Linked DNA regions of Homo sapiens: regions 1, 2, 3 and 5 are each linked to region 4. The links are contacts of gene promoters, found by promoter capture Hi-C in human tissues and cell types (Jung and others, 2019). All regions are on one chromosome and are shown on one strand. The core of a region is centred on a gene start or on the middle of the fragment in contact, and the rest is flanking DNA. Distances in the headings are between cores, read along the strand shown.

Evidence for each region. Contacts are between HindIII fragments. The study calls those that stand out against the background at their distance.
Region 1: the fragment with the promoter of MXD4 here is called in contact with the fragment with the promoter of TNIP2 in region 4 in 2 of the 25 tissues and cell types used here (bladder and lymphoblastoid cells).
Region 2: a fragment that was not itself captured here is called in contact with the fragment with the promoter of TNIP2 in region 4 in 1 of the 25 tissues and cell types used here (IMR-90 fibroblasts).
Region 3: a contact is called between a fragment that was not itself captured here and the fragment with the promoter of TNIP2 in region 4, in 2 of the 25 tissues and cell types used here (lymphoblastoid cells and spleen).
Region 5: a contact is called between a fragment that was not itself captured here and the fragment with the promoter of TNIP2 in region 4, in 1 of the 25 tissues and cell types used here (heart left ventricle).

The regions. Positions count from the first base shown.
Region 1 is chr4:2,260,626-2,264,407 of GRCh38, reverse strand. MXD4 (MAX dimerization protein 4) reads left to right here and starts at 2,299. Exons shown (of 6, transcript NM_006454.3): 1 at 2,299-2,491; 2 at 2,584-2,683. The coding sequence starts at 2,428. RefSeq lists enhancers at 627-1,286, 1,287-1,948, 3,180-3,772 and silencers at 1,580-2,419, 2,470-2,529, 2,620-3,009, 3,020-3,079. The HindIII fragment of the contact is 28,165 bases long and covers 1-3,782 here.
Region 2 is chr4:3,063,910-3,067,338 of GRCh38, reverse strand. It overlaps HTT-AS. Among named protein-coding and RNA genes, the nearest start is that of HTT, 9.1 kb to the left of the region's middle. The HindIII fragment of the contact is 3,839 bases long and covers 1-3,429 here.
Region 3 is chr4:3,082,109-3,085,544 of GRCh38, reverse strand. All of the region lies in intron 1 of HTT (huntingtin), which reads right to left. Among named protein-coding and RNA genes, the nearest start is that of HTT, 9.1 kb to the right of the region's middle. The HindIII fragment of the contact is 5,667 bases long and covers 1-3,436 here.
Region 4 is chr4:2,754,305-2,757,987 of GRCh38, reverse strand. It overlaps TNIP2 (TNFAIP3 interacting protein 2), which reads left to right and starts at 1,652. Exons shown (of 6, transcript NM_024309.4): 1 at 1,652-1,974. The coding sequence starts at 1,699. RefSeq lists silencers at 1,190-1,329, 1,510-2,029, 2,050-2,109. The HindIII fragment of the contact is 11,459 bases long and covers 1-3,683 here.
Region 5 is chr4:3,208,898-3,212,288 of GRCh38, reverse strand. HTT (huntingtin) reads right to left here. Exons shown (of 67, transcript NM_001388492.1): 46 at 3,378-3,391; 47 at 2,340-2,462; 48 at 147-360. Among named protein-coding and RNA genes, the nearest start is that of MSANTD1, 39 kb to the left of the region's middle. The HindIII fragment of the contact is 4,523 bases long and covers 1-3,391 here.

The sequences.
Region 1 (3,782 bases), core at 1,050-3,549, 490 kb after region 4:
GTCCTCAGTGTGGTGGGGAGGTGAGGGTGAGTCCTTAAATGGCCTAAATTGAGGCTAAAAATCTCTTAGACTGGGGTAGCATGCAGGTGCCTCCCCATAGACACACCTGCGCACCTGTGCTGCCCACTGCCACACAGAACAAATCTCTTGGCCCATGGCAGGAAGGGGGCGTGCACTATGCCCAGCAGGTGCACTTGTACTAGGCCAGGTGTCCGCTTTAGCTGTCGGCAGCAACTCACCCAGTGGCCAAAGCAGGGATGGGGCAACTTTGCAAAATGCTCATCCCCAAGTGGAGAGCTGGGTCCCCAGAGCCCAAACACACCCTGCTCCTCCCCAGACTTGGGCACCTTTCTTTACCATGCACAGCTCTGAGCAGCCATGCAGACAAACCTGGAGGGCCTCAGTGCTGAGTTCTTGTGAGGGGCTCTGCCTTGGGCCCTGGCGTCACTGTGGGGCGGGAACAGGAAGGGCCCCTGCTAACATCAAGGGGGTTGTCTCAATGTCCATGCAGGGCTGTCTCATAGCAGTGTCCGAGTTCCCCACTGGGTCCTGCAGGGCTCTGTGGGAACACACATTATTCTGAAGCCCACACCACAGGCTTACACCCAGCAGGACCAGCCAGGCCAGGAGGCTCTGGCCTCTGCATTCCTATAGCCCTGAGCCGTGTGTGGCAGCACTAATCTCCATTCTGCTGAGATTTCTGGGAGACCCCAGCAAATCCCTGAGCGTCTAGTCCCATGTCCTGATCTGCAAGCCGGGCATGCAAAACACAGGGAGATGCACACGAAGCTTTCACAGGAGTCCTGGTGCTGAGGTTTTGCATTTTTTGTTCAGTTTCATTGCCAGCAGCAGCCCCTGTGTCCCACTGAGTACTTCTGGAGGGGTCCAGCCACCTTATGCCTCCACACTCTCCAGCCTGCGGGGCCTGGCCCTTGGCACATCCAGGCCACCAACCTCAAAAATCAAATCAGTGAGATGGGTCGGGCGAGGTGGCTCACACCTGTAATCCCAGAACTTTGGGAGGCCGAGGCGGGCGGATCACGAGGTCAGGAGATCCAGACCATCCATGGTGAAACCCCATCTCTACTAAAAATACAAAAATTAGCTGGGCGTGGTGGCACGCGCCTGTAGTCCCAGCTACTTGGGAGGCTGAGGCAGGGGAATCGCTTGAACCCGGGAGGCGGAGGTTGCAGTGAACTGACATCACGCCACTGCATTCCAGCCTGGGCAACAGAGCCGTCTCAAAAAAAAAAAAAAAAAAAATCTGCGAGAGGGTGGGGGGTGCCGAGGCCAGTCTGGGCCAGCCTTAGGGTCAGGGGTCACTAGGGAGACCCGCCAGCTGGGATTTGATGAAGGGTTCACTCCCGTCCCCACTTAGGGCGTCCTCGGCCAGAGGTGGCCAGCGCCTGCCTCTAGGAACGTCCCTGCCCCTCAGGCCAGACACAGAGCATGCAGCCCCCCACTCCGGGGAGCCTCTCGACTCTGGCCGCACGTCTGTGTCCCTTCCCCAGACCTGGGCCCTCCCTCAGCTCCGGCGTCCACTGGGCGATCTGAGGAGCCCGCCCGCTCTGGGCCTGTTTCCCCACTGACACCCTCAGAGACGCCTGGCTCTTAGGATCAGAGCGTCTGCGTCCCTCTCCGAGGTCCCGGCCCTTCCCGGGGCCACTCTGCGCCCGGCGGGGAGGGGAGTCGTTCACGGCCCCACGCAAGACCCCCGGGCAGAGCGCGAGGCCTCGTCCCCCCACGCAGCCACTGCTTTCGTCGCGCTCAGACCCGGCGGCCCGGCCCGGCCCGGCGCACGCCCCGGAGCGCCCTGCTTCGCTCTCGTAGCGGAGACGCTCCTGCGTCCTAACGGGCCCCCAGGACGGCGGGCGGTCCCCGCGCGCTGCGCTTCCTCTCGGCAACGCGTCCGGCTGCGGCGCCCTCATTGGCCGCGCGCCCCGCCACCGGCCATTGGCTCGCAGTGCCTGTTTTACATAGGCCGCTCTGGCCAATCGGCGCGCGGCGCCTACTTAACATGCACGGCGGCCGCCAGTCAGCTAGCGCGGGGGCCGGGCCACCACGTGCTGTTGCTAAGCTCGGGCTTCTAAATTGTTACTAGCGCGGCCGGCCTATCCCAGCCCAGCTCTGCATCTGTCAACATTCTCGGCCCGGCCCGAGGCGCTCGACCCGTCCCCATTGGCCCCAGCCCGGCCCGGCGCCCGCCCCCGGGGCGCGAACGCCGCCTCCCATTGGCTCTGCGGGCCGCCGCTCTCCCTTATGTGTCAATTTGAGGGCCTGAGGCGGAGGGTGGCGGCCGAGCGCCGGAGTCCGCGGAGTCTGGAAGTGCGGCGGCCGGGCGCGCGGGGTGGGCGGCGAGCGGAGCCGGCCGGAGCGGGCCGGGCAGCGGCCGCCGCCGTCCCGGGGCGGACGGGCGCGGGCGGGAGGATGGAGCTGAACTCCCTGCTGATCCTGCTGGAGGCGGCCGAGTACCTGGAGCGCAGGGATCGAGGTAGCGCTCGCACCCCATTGTGCGCCCGCGGCGGTGGGCGGGCGGCGGGGCCGTGCCGGGCGGGGGCCGCTGACCGCGCCGTGTGTCCGCAGAGGCCGAGCACGGCTACGCCTCGGTGCTGCCCTTCGACGGCGACTTCGCCAGGGAGAAAACAAAGGCGGCCGGCCTGGTGCGCAAGGCCCCGAACAACAGGTACCGCCCCCCGCTCCCGACCCCGCCCGGCCCGGTCCGAACCCCCGCCCCCGCCCGGAGCGTGCTCTCCGGGCCCCGATTCCCGGCCCGCGGCCCTCAGCGCCGCCGCCGCGCGCCCCGGCGGCCAGCCTGGAGGAGGAGGCGCGCAGGCCGCGGCCGCAGCCCCGCCCGGCCGGCCCCGCCCTCGCCGTCGCCATCTTCCCGCGGCCGCGCCTCCCGGGCCGCTCGCGTAAACAGTGCCACGCGTACAGCGCCCGCCGCCGGGGTCCGCTCCCGCGCCCGCTCCCCGCCCCCGAGTTGTTCTGGACTTTTCCAGGCGGTAGAAAAGTTGTCAGCGGGCGCTGGCCGGTGCCCCGTGGGTCTGGGGAAACAGGCTCAGCCAGGGTCTGCGGGGGCTGCCGGCCCTAACCCCTTCTCTCCGCGGGTGGGTGGGCGGCCTCCTTTCGACTGGCTCTGCCAGCCGAACTCTGCTGCTCGGCCACCTTCCCCCGCCCCCAGGAGCCTAGACAGAGAAGCGAGTGGAGGCGCTGTCCTGGGCCCTCACTCCTCCCAGGGTGCCCACCGCTTCTGCCCAGCCTCCTGACACAGCGAAACTCCAGCCACCAGTATGGGGGTCCTCTTTTTTAAGACAGAGGCCTTTTAAGGGGGCGGGAGGAGGGGGCAGGCTGCAGGGCAGGGGCCCCATGAAGTCGTTACTACGGGTGCCAGCTGCGCCCTCCATACCTTGACCTCGTGTTCAGGCAGCAGAAGCCCTGAAGCTGGGGTGCGTACAGGTCCCCCGCGTGGGGAGTGGGGACCCTGGGCCGGGGCTCCCCGGGGATTTCCACCCTCCTGGCTGCTGTGAGGACCATAGCACACCTGGTCCTGTCTGGGCCCACCTTGGCCCAGCCCTTTTGTGTGAGCAGGCTGGGAGCTGCGTTTGTAGGGGGCTTCAGAGCCCCAGGGCATGGCTCATTCCTGTGGTCCACCTGTTCTAGGGAATCCGAAAGGCTGGTGTAGGGACCCATTTCTGTGGCATCCTGAGCCAGGCGAGGAATTGGTTGAGTCTCCAGCTGCCCTGGCTGGGACCCGTCCCTGAGTCCCAGCCCCTGGTCCCCTA
Region 2 (3,429 bases), core at 449-2,948, 310 kb before region 4:
CATCAGTTTCGAAGCCTCTCAGTCACCGTCCTTGAAACACGGCTTCTGTTCTTCTCCTTCTCTCTCTCCCTGGTACTCCAAATAAATGTATATTAGATCCTCTCACCATATCCTTTCTTCTGCATTTTCCATTCCTTGGCCTCTCAGTGCCTTATTCTGGGTAGTGTCATCTGACTTACTTCCTAGTTCTCTCTGGCTATTTCTATTCTGCTGTTAAACCCTTGCTTTACCATTAAGTTCTGGAATTCTGCAGTTTTCGGGACCGTAATTTATACTGACTCTAAAGTATGCTGTTGTCACATTTTATAGTTTCTGATTTCCTGCCAACACTTTCAAGTTTTGCAAATTTCCTCTTTGAACATGGGAAACATAGTTGTTTAAGTGTCTGTATTTCATATCTCCATTATCTAGACACTAGATAGATTCTAGGCCTCTGAGGGTATGTTTCTCATGCCTGAAGTTTCTGCTAATTCCCATCCATCAGGCCTCATATCACGTTCCTGGTAATTTGTGTTTGTGTGCTGGACATTGTATTTGAAATTTATTAGAGAGTCATTTGAAGCTTAAGGTATTATCTTCTTCCGGAGAGGATTTTTGTTTGCAATGCCAGGCTCCTGGGACACTAGAAGTCCTAGGCCATCTTAATCCAAGTTCCAGTTTTGAGGAACTGGATGTGGTTGATATGAAGGGATTGGTATGGTCCCAGAGGACCATCCATATTTCAGAGCTGGTTTACTTCCAAGTCATCCTTCTTCTTGGGTGGGGTGGACCCCAAAGTGGACCCCAAAGTGGAAAGGAATTGCCTGGGACCCTAAACTTGGCATGCGCTAGATTTCATTTTTAGTCCCCTATGCTCAAGAGGCTTAGCTCAGACGGGGCACGGTGGGTCACGCCTATAATCCCAGCACTTTGGGAGGCCGAGGTGGACAGATCATGACGTCAAGAGATCGAGACCATCCTGGCCAACATGGTGAAACCCCGTCTCTACTAAAATTACAAAAATCAGCTGGGTGTAGTGGCGGGAGCCTGTAATCCCAGCTACTCGGGAGGCTGAGGCAGGAGAATCGCTTGAACCAGGGAGGTGGAGGTTGCAGTGAGCTGAGATCGCACCATTGCACTCCAGCCTGGCAACAGAGTGAGACGCCACCTCAAAAAAAAAGGAGGCTTAGCTCAGCCTTCCAGATACCTTGTCCAGATCAGCAAATACCCGCAAAGCAGAAGCAGCCCTGGTGTTTGGCCTCTCTCTCTGCGCTCCCACCCTCTTCTGGCTTCCAGCCCCGAAAGCTGCTTACTCTGTTAATGTTTATGTTTGTCTGGATTTATTCATTATGTTCATTAGGATGATAGAAACGGATTCTATCGTCCGTCATCAATGTACATGGAAGTTCCTCCTGAAAATAAAGATGGTCCCAAACTTAGGCTGGTTCAACTAAAATTTTTTGACTTGATGATGGTGCAAAAGCAGTACACATTCAATGGAAACCACACTTCAAATTTTCAACTTTGATCTTTCCCCAGGCTAGTGATGTGCTACGTAATACTGTCTTGTGAAGCTGGGAAGCTCCCAGGCAGCCACGCAGTCACAAGGGCAAACAGCAGATGCTCTGCAGTAGACTGTGCTGCTGTGTGATTTTGCCAATTGTAGGCTGACGTCAGTGTCTGAGCATAGCTAAGGCAGGCTGGGCTCAGCTATGATGTTTGGTAGGTTAGGTGTATTAAGGGCATTTTTTACTTATATTTTCAACTTATTATGGATTTATCTAGAGGTAACCCCATAGTAAGTCAATAAGCATCAGTATTAAGGATAATGTTGAAAGTAGTTGGGCTGGCGTGGTGGCTCACACCGGTAATCCCAGTACGTGAGGTTGGGAGTTCAAGACCAGCCTGACCAACATGGTGAAACCCCATCTCTACTAAAATACAAAAAAAAATTAGCCGGGCATGGTGGTGCGCGCCTGTAGTCCCAGCTACTCGGGAGGCTGAGGCAGGAGAATCGCTTGAACCTGGGAGGCGGGGGGCGTGCAGTGAGCCAACATTGCACCACTGCACTCCAGCCTGGCAACAGAGCAAGACTCCGTCTCAAAAAAAAAAAAGAAGAAAGAAACTAGCTATCCTCTTATTCCTAATTTTAACATTATTCCCTCCAGCGTGTGCCCTTATCGGGTAAAATGATGCCTTCTGGGCTGATAAATATATTTTATCATGCTAAAGAAGGAGTAACTAATTTATTTTATTGACCACCTAAAAAGTAGGTGTTGAATTTGGTCAAATGCCTTTACAGCATCTATGAAAATAATCTATTTTTTCTTTGGGTATATTCACATGATCTATTATATTGTGTTACTGAATTTCCTTGTATTGAACCATCCATGCATTATTGAAATAAACCCCACTATGTTATGATGTGACATTTTTATGTATTGTTGGGTTCTGTCTGGTAATACTTTATTAAGGGTTTTGTATTCATAAAAGAGATTGGTATGAAGTTTTGTATAAGGTCTTTATAAGATTTTGGTATCAATTTATACTTGCTTTATAAAAAGAATTGGGAAGTTTTGTTTTTCTAGAGTCTGGAATATTTCAAGCCCATTCAAAGTTTTATTTGCTCTCTAAGGTGTGCTAACATTCCCATGTCAGATTGTTTGAGCCTGGTGTTTTTTTGAAGGGTAGCACTTTGACAACTTTACTTCTTCTCTTGAAAATATCCTATTTAGGCTTCTATTTTACTTGTGGTTAGTTTTGATAAATTATGTTTTCCTAGAAATGCATTTCATCCAAGTTTTATGTTTATGTTCATAAATTTCTGCAAAGTATTCATTATCTTTCTCTCTTTACATGATTTTTCTCCCCTTGAAATTAATTTTTGTGTATTTTTAGTTTCTTAATTAGGTTAGATTTTTATTTATTTGGTTAGTTAGTTGATTCTTTTAAGAACAATGTCTTTTGGCCAGGCACGGTGGCTCATGCCTGTAATCCCAGCACTTTGGGAGGCTGAGGCAGGCGGATCACAAGGTAAGGAGTTTGAGGCCAGCCTGGTTAATATGGTGAAACCCCGTCTCTGCTAAAAATACAAAAATTAGCCAGATGTGGTGGCACACACCTGTAGTCCCAACTGCTCAGGAGGCTGAGGCAGGAGAATCACTTGAACCTGGGAGGCAGAGCTTGTAGTGAGCTGAGATTGCACCATTGCACTCCAGCCTGGGCAACAGAGTGAGGCTCCATCTCAAAAAAAAAAAAAAAAACTTTATTATTTGTGTTACAGCTTTCCTGTGTTATAGCCAGCACTTTCTGCTTCTAACTCTGGCTTGATCTTTCTGGTGATTCACTCCTATCCAGGAGCCACCAAGAGTCACCTCATTAGAACAAAAGATGCTCACCCAGGAAGTTCTCAGGATTTTAGGAGCTCTGTGGCAGGAACTGGGTGCAGAC
Region 3 (3,436 bases), core at 706-3,205, 330 kb before region 4:
ACCACCTTGCTCTGAGCAAGAACTGGAAAAACAGGGTAAGAACAGTCCTGGCTTTTCAATCACTTTTGGTAAATGTAGTCACTTTCACTTCACCTTCAAAATTAAAACAAACGGCCAGGTGTGGCTCACGCCTGTAATCCCAGCACTTTGGGAGGCTGGGGCAGCAGATCATCTGAGGTCAGGAGTTCGAGACCAGCCTGGCCAGCATGGTGAAACGCTGCTCTACTAAAAATACAAAAAATAGTTGGGCGTGGTGGCGGGCGCCTATAATCCCAGCTACTCGGGAGGCTGCGGCAGAAGAACTGCTTGAACCCAGGAGGCAGAGGTTGCAGTGCACCAAGATTGCGCCATTGCACTCTAGCCTGGGGAACAGAGCCAGACTGTCTCAAAAAAAAAAAAATTAAAACAATCCTCCGCCAGCCTCCTCTAATTGTGTAATCAAGCAATCTGCACGGGCACACAAGCGTAAGGAGGGGCATGTAAACTCAAGGACACTACAGCATTCTATTTATTTATTTTTTTTTTTCCCCCGAGACGGAGTCTTGCTCTGTCGCCCAGGCTGGAGTGCAGTGGCGCGATCTCAGCTCACTGCCAGCTCTGCCTCCCGGGTTCACACCATTCTCCTGCTTCAGCCTCCCAAGTAGCTGGGACTACAGGCACCCACCACTATACCCGGCTAATTTTTTGTATTTTTTAGTAGAGACGGGGTTTCACCGTGTTAGCCGGGATGGTCTGGATCTCCTGACCTCGTGATCTGCCCATCTCGGCCTCCCAAAGTGCTGGGATTACAGGTGTGAGCCACCACACCCGGCCCAGTAATGCTGTATTTTAATTGATCTTGGTTTTTTTTTTTTGGAGATGGAGTCTTACTCTGTCACACAGGCTGAAGTGCAATGGCGCACTCTCAGCTCACTGCAACCTCTGCCCCTCGGGTTCAAGCAGTTCTCTTGCCTCAGCCTCCCAAGTAGCTGGGACTACAGGTGCACACCACCATGCCCGGCTAATTTTTGTATTTTTAGTCAAGATGGGGTTTCATCATGTTGGCCCGGCTGGTCTCGAACTCCTGACCTCAAGTGATCTGCCCACCTTGGCCTCCCAAAAGTGCTGGGATTACAGGCATGAGCCACCACGTCCGACCTGATCTTGATGTTTTAATGTCATGTGTGTTGGATTATTTGGATGAACATTACCTCTGGTTTGTTTCACTCTGAACATGGGAGACTGAGACACAAGTATCACTTGAACCCAGGAGGCAGAGGTTGCAGTGAGAAAAGATCATGCCACTGCACTCCAGCCTGGGCAACAGAGCAAGACTCTGTCGCCAAAAAAAAAAAAAAAAAAAAAAAGACAAAGCATTTCCATTACAAGTATTCCCCTGTGTTGTCCTTTTATAACCACATTCACCTCCCTCTCTTTTCTCTCCTCTGCCACCACTAACCTACTCTACTACCCCATCTCTAACCCCAGGCAACCACTAATCTATTCTCCATCCCTAAAACTGTGCCATTGCAAAAAAACATAGAATCATACAGTATGTATAACCTTTTGGGATTGGCTTTTTTCATTAGCATAACTTCACCTAAACTGTTGCATGCTATCAGTAGCTCATTCCTTTTTATTACTGAGTAGTTTAACCATTCACCTGTTGAAGGACATCTGAGCTGATTCCAGTTCTTAGATATTATGGGTAAAGCTGCTATGCATACTTGAGTATAGGTTTTTATGTGAACATTAAGGTTTCATTTCTCTAGGATTAATGCCCAGGATTGTAGTTGCTGCTGGGCTGTATACTAACGGTATGTTCAGTTTTATGACAAACTGCCAAACTGTTTTCCAGAGTGGCCGTACTATATTATATTCCCACCAGCAATAAGTGACCTAGTTTTTCTAAATCCTCACCAGCATGTGGTATTGTCAAAGTGATCTTTTCATCTAAATGCATATATATACATATATATGTGTGTGTGTGTGTGTGTGTGTGTGTGTGTGTGTGTGTGTGTGTGTGTGTGTGTGTATATTTAGAGACAGGGTCTCACTCTCTTGCCCAGGTTGTAGTGTAGTGGCATAATCATAGCTCACTGCAGCCTCAAACTCCTGGACTCAAGCAATCCTCCAGCCTCCTCAGCCTCCTGAGTAGCTGGGACTACAGGCACACACCACTATGCCCAGCTAATTTTTTAAAGTTTTTTGTAGAGACCTTATAGGTGCTGCTATGTTGGCTATGCTGGTCGTCTGGCCTCAGGCAATCCTCCCACCACACCGTCTCAAACTACTGGTATTACAGGCATGAACCATTGTGCCCAGCCAAAATGATCTTTTAAAAACATAAATTAAACTACTTGTTTTGACCACACAAGCTTATCTTGGTGCACAAGACGCTCGTCTCTAACCTCTCATCTCTCGCAGCCTCATCCTTATTTCTGCCCTTCACCTTACTTCAGCCACTGGCCTCCTTACTGGTTCTCAAACATGGAAAGCATTTCTGCCTTCTGTTAACTCTGCCTGGACCTCTCTTCTCCCGCTATACACATGGCTTGCCCCCTTTCCACTCAAATGTCACCTTCTAACCACAGCTCTCCTTTGTGCCCTAAATAAAATTGCACATTGTCTCTCCCCTCATTCGGTTGTTTTTCTCCATAGTGGCTGCTCAGATGAAAGGGTCCTTCCAGTTCATCTAAGCGAGTCCCACTACCAATGGCTGGGAGCTCTCCGCAGGCTCACCTCAGCTCACTCATCACAGCTACAGAAATGCTCAACGGCCCTACAGCAGATAAGCAAGGCCACCTCAGCTACACCTGGACACATATGAGCAACACAGGTCTTCCTCCCAAATGCTTGCATTGTTATTAGCAACAACAAAGGTAAGGTCTAAGCACCTACAGTGGAGCTTCCCAAACTCCAATGTGCATGTAAGTCACTCACTGAACCTGTTAAAACACAGACTCTGATTTGTCAGGTCAAGCAGAGAGAGTCTGCTTATGAGATCCCAAATGATACCAAACGACTGTCCCTGAGACCTCACTGTGATAGCAAGGACCTATGGACATATCATGTCTCTAACATACATTCTAGCCCCCAAATTGATCCAATTTAATACAATATTAAACAGTGCTTTATAAGGTATTTTATTTTTCCTCCTTGTTGTCTGAATAAGACTAAATGTTTTGAGTGTGGATCCATTCAAAGGTAGTTTATCAAGTGGTTGACTTATTTACAGGAAATGGAGGTGATGGGGATGGGGACTTCTCAAGGTAGAGAGAATATGTCACCAGCACATTCTACAGCCACAAAAATGTGAGACCTTTGCCTTTACATCTCCAAAAGTCCTCTTTTAAAAAGAAATTCTAAAATATTACATAGCAATTAATAAGAATTACAGGTACTGCTATGGAACAATATCTATGACACATTGTTAAGTAAAAAAATACATATGTAA
Region 4 (3,683 bases), core at 403-2,902:
GTCACATGCACCTTTTACAGTTGAGGCAGAGGCTCAAGGTAGGTCACTGGAATGACGTGCCCCAGGCCACACATTAGCCTCTAACAGCTCTGGGTCCAGTTTTGTTTTTTCCACTCATGCCCCAGACAATCAATAGGCATTGTTTGTAACCATAGCCATGGGGACTGTAGGCTTGCTGTGCAGCAGCCACTGCACTGGACAAGCATTCCATGCACACTCCACCCTCTAGTCCCCACAACAGCCCAACCAGGTAGGGTGGGCACTCGCTCTGCCCTTCCTTCTGCTGAGAGGAAGCCCAGGCTCTGATGAGTAAGAAGGAGCCTTCCATAGCAAAGCCAGGCCTGTGTAGCCCAATGTCCGGGCCATAAGCACTTGGGTGGCTCTGGCTTTGCTTATAGGCTTGTCTGATTCTACAAGCTTGTGTTTTCCCAGGCTCAGCTCAGGCTTGGCTGTGGATCACATAAGGGAAGAAAGTCAAGAAGCTGCTCAGGGGCGGAGCCTGTGGGCAAGTGCACACACAGGGAAGACCCCTGCCCTATCCTGAGTAGGGAACCTTGGAAAGACCCCATGTGTGCTTGGGCATCATTGTGGGGAAGACTGGGCTGTGGAAAAACACTAGCGTTTGTCTGGGAATTTTGGGGAAGGAAAGGGATGGAAAAGCGAAAGGGTGGGAAGGGGCTGGTTTCCTGCTGCTTCTGCTATATAAGAACAGCATCTAGCAGGAAGGTTGTCCCGTGGGCCCATACTAGCCACCTTACAAAGCAGCGTCTGCAGTGGCTGACGCCTGTAATCCCAGCACTTTGGGAGGCTGAGGCCGGTGGATCTACCTGAGGTCAGGAGTTCAAGACCAGCCTGGCCAACATGGTGAAACACCATCTCTACTAATAATACCAAAAAATTAGCAGGGCATGGTGGCGGGCGCCTGTAATCCCAGCTACTCAGGAGGCTGAGGCAGGAGAATCGCTTGAAACTGGGAGGCGGAGGTTGTAGTGAGCCGAGATCGCGCCATTACACTCCAGCCTGGGCAACAGAGCGAAACTCCGTCTCAAAAAGAAGAAAAAAAAGGAAAGAAAAAAGAAAGCGGCGTGCGGGGCAGGGGGTTGGAGCTCTTTCTGGGCTCAGTGTCCCCAGGTGACGGAACACATGCCACGTGCTTGGTGCGCTGCGAGCTCAGCTCCTGGAGCTTCTGTTGCTGCTGTGGCCGCAAGGCCTGGACCCTCGCGGGGAGATTCAGACCCACACTTAGCTCCAGAGCTTGGGGGTTGTCGTTAAGCCCTTCCTTTCCATCAGAGGCTGATGAATCCCCAAACTCCTGGGCTGAGTTCGACTCTCCGACAACTCCTCAGAGGCGGATGTTTGGGGCCACTGGAATAAGCCCAGCACCAGCTGGGGTGTGGACAGCCTCGGGGGCCAGGCCAACTCTCCCGGACGGGTGCGGACGGCAGGGGCGGGGCCGGGCTGTAGGCGGTGGGAGGGGTGGGGCCGGGCGAGAAGGGGCTGGGCGGGCTGCCGTCGGGCGGGGCTGCGCGGGGAAGGGCGGGGCTGCGCGGGGGGCGGGGCTGCGTGGGGGAGGGCGGGGCCGGGCTGTTGTGGGTGGGCGGGGCGCACCGGGGAAAGTTCCGGGAAGGGCGGCAGCCGGCGGGGCCCGGGCGCGGAAGTTGCCGGCGGCCGCGCGGCCTCCCGGGCGGGCCTACAGCCATGTCCCGGGACCCGGGGTCGGGCGGCTGGGAGGAGGCCCCGCGCGCAGCTGCCGCGCTCTGCACCCTGTACCACGAGGCCGGACAGCGGCTGCGCCGCCTGCAGGACCAGCTCGCTGCCCGCGACGCCCTCATCGCTCGCCTCCGCGCCCGCCTGGCCGCGCTGGAGGGGGACGCCGCGCCGTCCCTAGTGGACGCGCTGCTGGAGCAGGTTGCGCGCTTCCGGGAGCAGCTGCGAAGGCAGGAGGGCGGCGCCGCCGAGGCCCAGATGCGCCAGGTACGAGGGCGGGTACCAGAGGAGCTGCGGGAGCGAGAGTGCGTGTGGCGGCCGCCGGGTCCTGGGTGGGTGAGCGAGCGGGCCCCGGGTCCTGAGGGGTTGAGGGGGTACTGGGTCCTGGGGTTGAGTTGGCCTCGGGTCCTGAGGGGTTGGGGGAGCACCAGGTCCTGGGAGTTGAGGGGGTGCCGGGTCCTGGGGGTGAGGGGGCCCCGGCTCCTGAGGGGTTGGGGGAGCATCAGGTCCTGGGGGTTGAGGGGGTGCCGGGTCCTGGGGTTGAGGGACACTAGGTCCTGGGGGTAAGGGGCCGTCGGGTCCTGGGGGTGATAGGGCAACAGCTTCTGGGGGGTGAGGGGACCCTGGGTCCTAGGGGAGAGAGGGGGACCAGGTCCTGAGTGGGATAAGGGGACACCACGGGCTGAGGTGTGCTGGGTCCTGGGGGGTTTGAGGCGTCACCAGGTGCTGGTGGAGGTGAGGGGGCTCTGGGTCCTGCGGGGTGAGGGTGCAAGGTTCTGAAGGGGATAAGCGAATGCTGGATCCTGGGGGGTTGGGAGGGCACTGGGTCCTGGGGGATGGTGAGGAGGCACTGGGTTCTGAGGAGGGGGGTTGGTGCAGTTCTTGGGTTCTGTGTGTGTGTGGTGTATGTTCAGGTGGGCTCTTAGGGGTATTTTGAGGTTCGTGTGTGGGAACACATTCCGAGGGGGGTGTGTGTATGCTGTGTGTATTCTGTGTGTATTGTGTAGTGTGTATGTTCCGGTTGGTTCTTAGGGGTGTTTTGAGGTGTGTGTGCGGGAGACACATTCTGAGGGGTGTGTATGGTGTGTGTGTGTACGCACACATGTGTGTCTTGGGTCCAAGGTCGTGTACTCATATTGTGTTCTAGAGTCCCTTCCAGCCCTCACCCATGCATGTGTCTTTCACTAGTGGCGCTTCAACTCTATGCTGGGAGCAATGGCAAATGCAGCCCGTGTCTGATAAAGGACACAAATCCTAGGCTGGGTGCAGTGGCTCACGCCTGTAATCCCAGTACTTTCGGAGGCAAGGCGGGCAGATTGCCTGAGCCCAGGAGTTCGAGACAAGGCTGAGCAACATGGTGAAACCCTGTCTACAAAAAGTGCAAAAAATTAGCCGGGCATGGTGGCACGTGCCCGTGCTCCCAGCCACTAGGGAGACTTAGGTGGGAGGATCACTTGAGCCTGGGAGGCAGAGGTTGCAGTGAGCCAAGATCGCACCACTGCACTCCAACCTGGGTGACAAAGTGAGACCTTGTCTGAAAAAATTAAATTAAAAATGGACACAAGGGTCCGGACGCGGTGGCTCATGCCTGTAATCCCAGCACTTTGGGAGGCCAAGGCGGCGGATCACGAGGTCAGGAGATTGAGACCATCCTGGCTAACATGGTGAAAACCCATCTCTACTAAAAATACAAAAAATTAGCTGGGCGTGGTGGCGGGCGCCTGTAGTCCCAGCTACTTGGGAGGCGGAGGCAGGAGAATGGCATGAACCCGGGCGGCGGAGCTTGCAGTGAGCCGAGATTGTGCCACTGCACTCCAGCCTGGGCGACAGAGCGAGACTCCGTCTCAAAAACAAACAAAAAAAGACGCAAATCCTGACTTTCTTCTCTTTGTCCTTGTCTATGATGTTTATGTCTGTTTTTTGATGATAAACTATAACACCACAACAGCAGTATAAGTAACAGTTTTTTTGTGCAA
Region 5 (3,391 bases), core at 299-2,798, 450 kb before region 4:
GGACACCCGTGCTGCTCTTTAGCTACCTCTGTAAACGCTTTCAATGTATTAGATCCACTGCCTTTATTGTACATTTACTTGGTGCAAAGTACTATACTGGCCCTGGAATGCTTTTTAAAAATAAGATAAATTTTAATTTTAATTACCAAACAGATCATTCAACTTGCTCCAGTAGGCCGCCGGCTCTGCAGGCAGCTCGGGCTGGAAGACATGATGGACAGCAGGGAGCTGCTGCACGGTGCCGCTCACACGGGCCAGAGTCACCTCACGGGCTGCTTCAAAAAGGGCACTCTTCTGGCCACCAGAAATTTCACTCATCCCTAGGCTTAAGCATGGAGCTAGCAGGCTTAGGTTGAACTCCTGAAATCAGAGCATTAAAGGTTAACAAACAATAACAACAGATTATGAGCTTTCAATCAGGTAAGAAAAACACAACAGAAAAAAGAATAAGGCAAATGTTTCTGAGAAAATACAAATTGGTATACCATCAAAAATATTTTTAAGAAAATTCTACTCTATGCCTGTTATAAATATTTGAACAATTTCATTCAACATATGCTTAGTAAAATATATATCTGTTCTCTCTTAGTATTTTAAGTAATATTTTAATTTTTTATGCTCTTGGATTTGCTTGAAATAAAAATTTTGGTATGACAATTTTAATTCATAAAAACAAAATCAAAGCTAAAGTGTCATCCAAGACCTCAGTGATACACCAACCACCCTAAAGTTTGAAAAAGATGTTCAAATGCAGCTGAAATACGTAAAAGTAGCCATATGAATGCCAAAATTTTGGTTGGAAAAATGGTATTTCTTATGTCAATTTGGATTATGTTTTAGCAACCCTTTTGTTTAGCCATTTAAAGATTGGTGGCCGATCCTTCAGGTAAAACATCTATCTTAGTTTAATACTCAGAAAAGCATCATGAATGCCAAAAGTTGAAGCTTTCTTTTACAGTCAGAACTTTTACAGCTGTTCAAAGCCCAATTAGCAAATTTGGAAAACCTAATAAACAGATCACTAAGCAAATTTATCACTCAGTAAGTTAGCTTTCACTGCATGAATCTTAAGATAAACAATTTTAGGCCGGGCGTGGTGGCTCAGGCCTATAATCCCAGCACTTTGGGAGGCCGAGGTGGGCGGATCACCTGAGGTCAGGAGTTTGAGACCAGCCTGGCCAACATGGTGAAATCCCGTCTCTACTAAAAATACAAAAATTAGCCGGGCGTGGTGGTGCATGCCTGTTAATACCAGCTATTTGGGAGGCTGAGGCAGGAGAATCGTATGAACCCAGGAGGCGGAGGTTGCAGTGAGCCAAGATAGCGCCATTGCACTCCAGCCTGGGGGACAACAGCGAGACTTTGTCTCAAAAAAAAAAAAAAAGATAAACAATTTTAGTAAATGGATTTTGGGCTAATTCTCCTGTTGTTTTCAGTTGAGCTCTTCAGTACATCAGAACACACTGTTGTGTTGCCCTCCCCACAAGGTCTCTTTTCATGAACACCTGCCGTCACTCCCGGCCTCTACAGGCATTTGTCCTCCCAGGTGCCCACTTCCCTCCCATTTGCTGCATATCAACGCAGGGCTAAAGCACCAGGAGGTTTCTCCCGTCCTAGTAGGTCTGAGAAGAAGCCCTGCTTGGGCCATGGCTGCACCATACCCAAGAGGTGGCCCCCCCACTGCTCACAGGACCTGCCCACGGGTGAGGGACAGGGACACCAAGGCTTTGCATGGCCTCCTAGCTCTGCGCAGGGTGCCCTCTGACATCTGGGGTTGGGGGGTGAAGAACCTCACTACATCTAACAGAGGTGTGAGTAGAGGAAATCTCGCTGCATCCAAGGGTCTCTTTTACGACTAAAGATCAACTTCCAAGACACTAGAAACAAGTTATTGACGTCACGCATTACGACACTGTGTTGAAGTCTACGGCAAATACGCAACCTTGACTTCCATTCTGTCTTGGCCATGGAGCTTAGATGATAACATCCTGTGTTTGTTCCTCCAGTGGAGGCCAGATAGTTCTCATCCCAAACCATACACCCAGCCTTGGGGCCAGCTGGATTTCAAAACAACACCTCCGTGGATTCTAATGTGGCTGAAACAATGTGCTTTTCTGTCTCGATCAGCATAACCCCCATGTCCCGACCCCATCTGAAATGGAGTCCTCCCCACTTCCCGGCCCCATTCAGAGTGGAGTCTCTCCGACATCCCGTCCCTGCCCAGACTGGAGTCCCCAACATGTGTTGTCAACAAGTGGGTCACATGATGATGAGACAAATCCCACTTGGAAGTCACAAGAAAAGCTGAGGATTCCTTGCCTCCACTGCTCCCCCCGTACCGAGTTCATCATGAAGGCATTCATATCTTCAGCAGGAATCCGATTCACCAGCTCTGCACCTTCCAGCAGTGCAGAATCTGACCTGGTCCAACACTGGGATTTGACAAGATGAACGTACCAGTCCTGGGAAGAAAAAAATGGATAAGGGGAACATGATGGGCGGCGTTCAAGGGGACTTCACATCCCTGGAGCTACAGGCCTAGGCCAGTGCTTGGGAACACCGCACTAGGCTGAGAGGGCTGCCGGCCGGCAGGCTGTGGCTATACGGCTCACCACACCACAGGTTTTCCCCTTTGGACTTCTGTTACCTGCCTGGGCACCCTCACAGCCTCCCCCTTCACCTGGTGAACTTCCAATAGGCCTTCCAAATATAGCTAAACCACTAAGGGTTAGCGGCCCCTTTGCCATCCTCTCCTGGGTTGTCTGCTTTACTCATCTCTCCCCAGCAACCAGGGCAGGGCAGGTGCTTAGCGAATAGAGCCTAAGAAGGCAGGACTGAACCTTCGCTTTCTTATACTTGGGCTGCTGGTTTTTGAAATCTAAATTCATATTCATAAGCTGAACTTTGTCCAGGAAAGTAGAGTACCAAGGCTCTACCAAGGCTCTACCAAGGCTCCAGGTGGTCCCTAACCATGAGGTATGAGCAGTGGAGGTGCTGACAACATACCAGAATGGCTGGCAGTGGCAGTGCAACTCACAGGTGGCCAGAAGGTATGAGGAGATGGAGGGAGGCTAACGGCATTGACATGTGCTTGAAGGCCTGTGCAGTCAGGGGCCTGCAGGCCACGGCCGACTATTCCTTGATTCACCCACTAACTACTCACCCCACACTCCTACCAAAAGGGTCCCACATCAGCACTGCTTGGCTCCCTCAGACCTTGATGGCCCCCCACGTCTCTAACCACAGCTTCACTGAGCCGAGCCGAGCGCCAGAACTCCTTGGGTCCACGGCACCTCCTCTGCACTCTCTGTATCTGCCACAGGTGACAGAGGCACTCAGCGCCCTGTGCCTCCCATGCAGACACGCTGGACACTTACTTTGTCCGGACTCA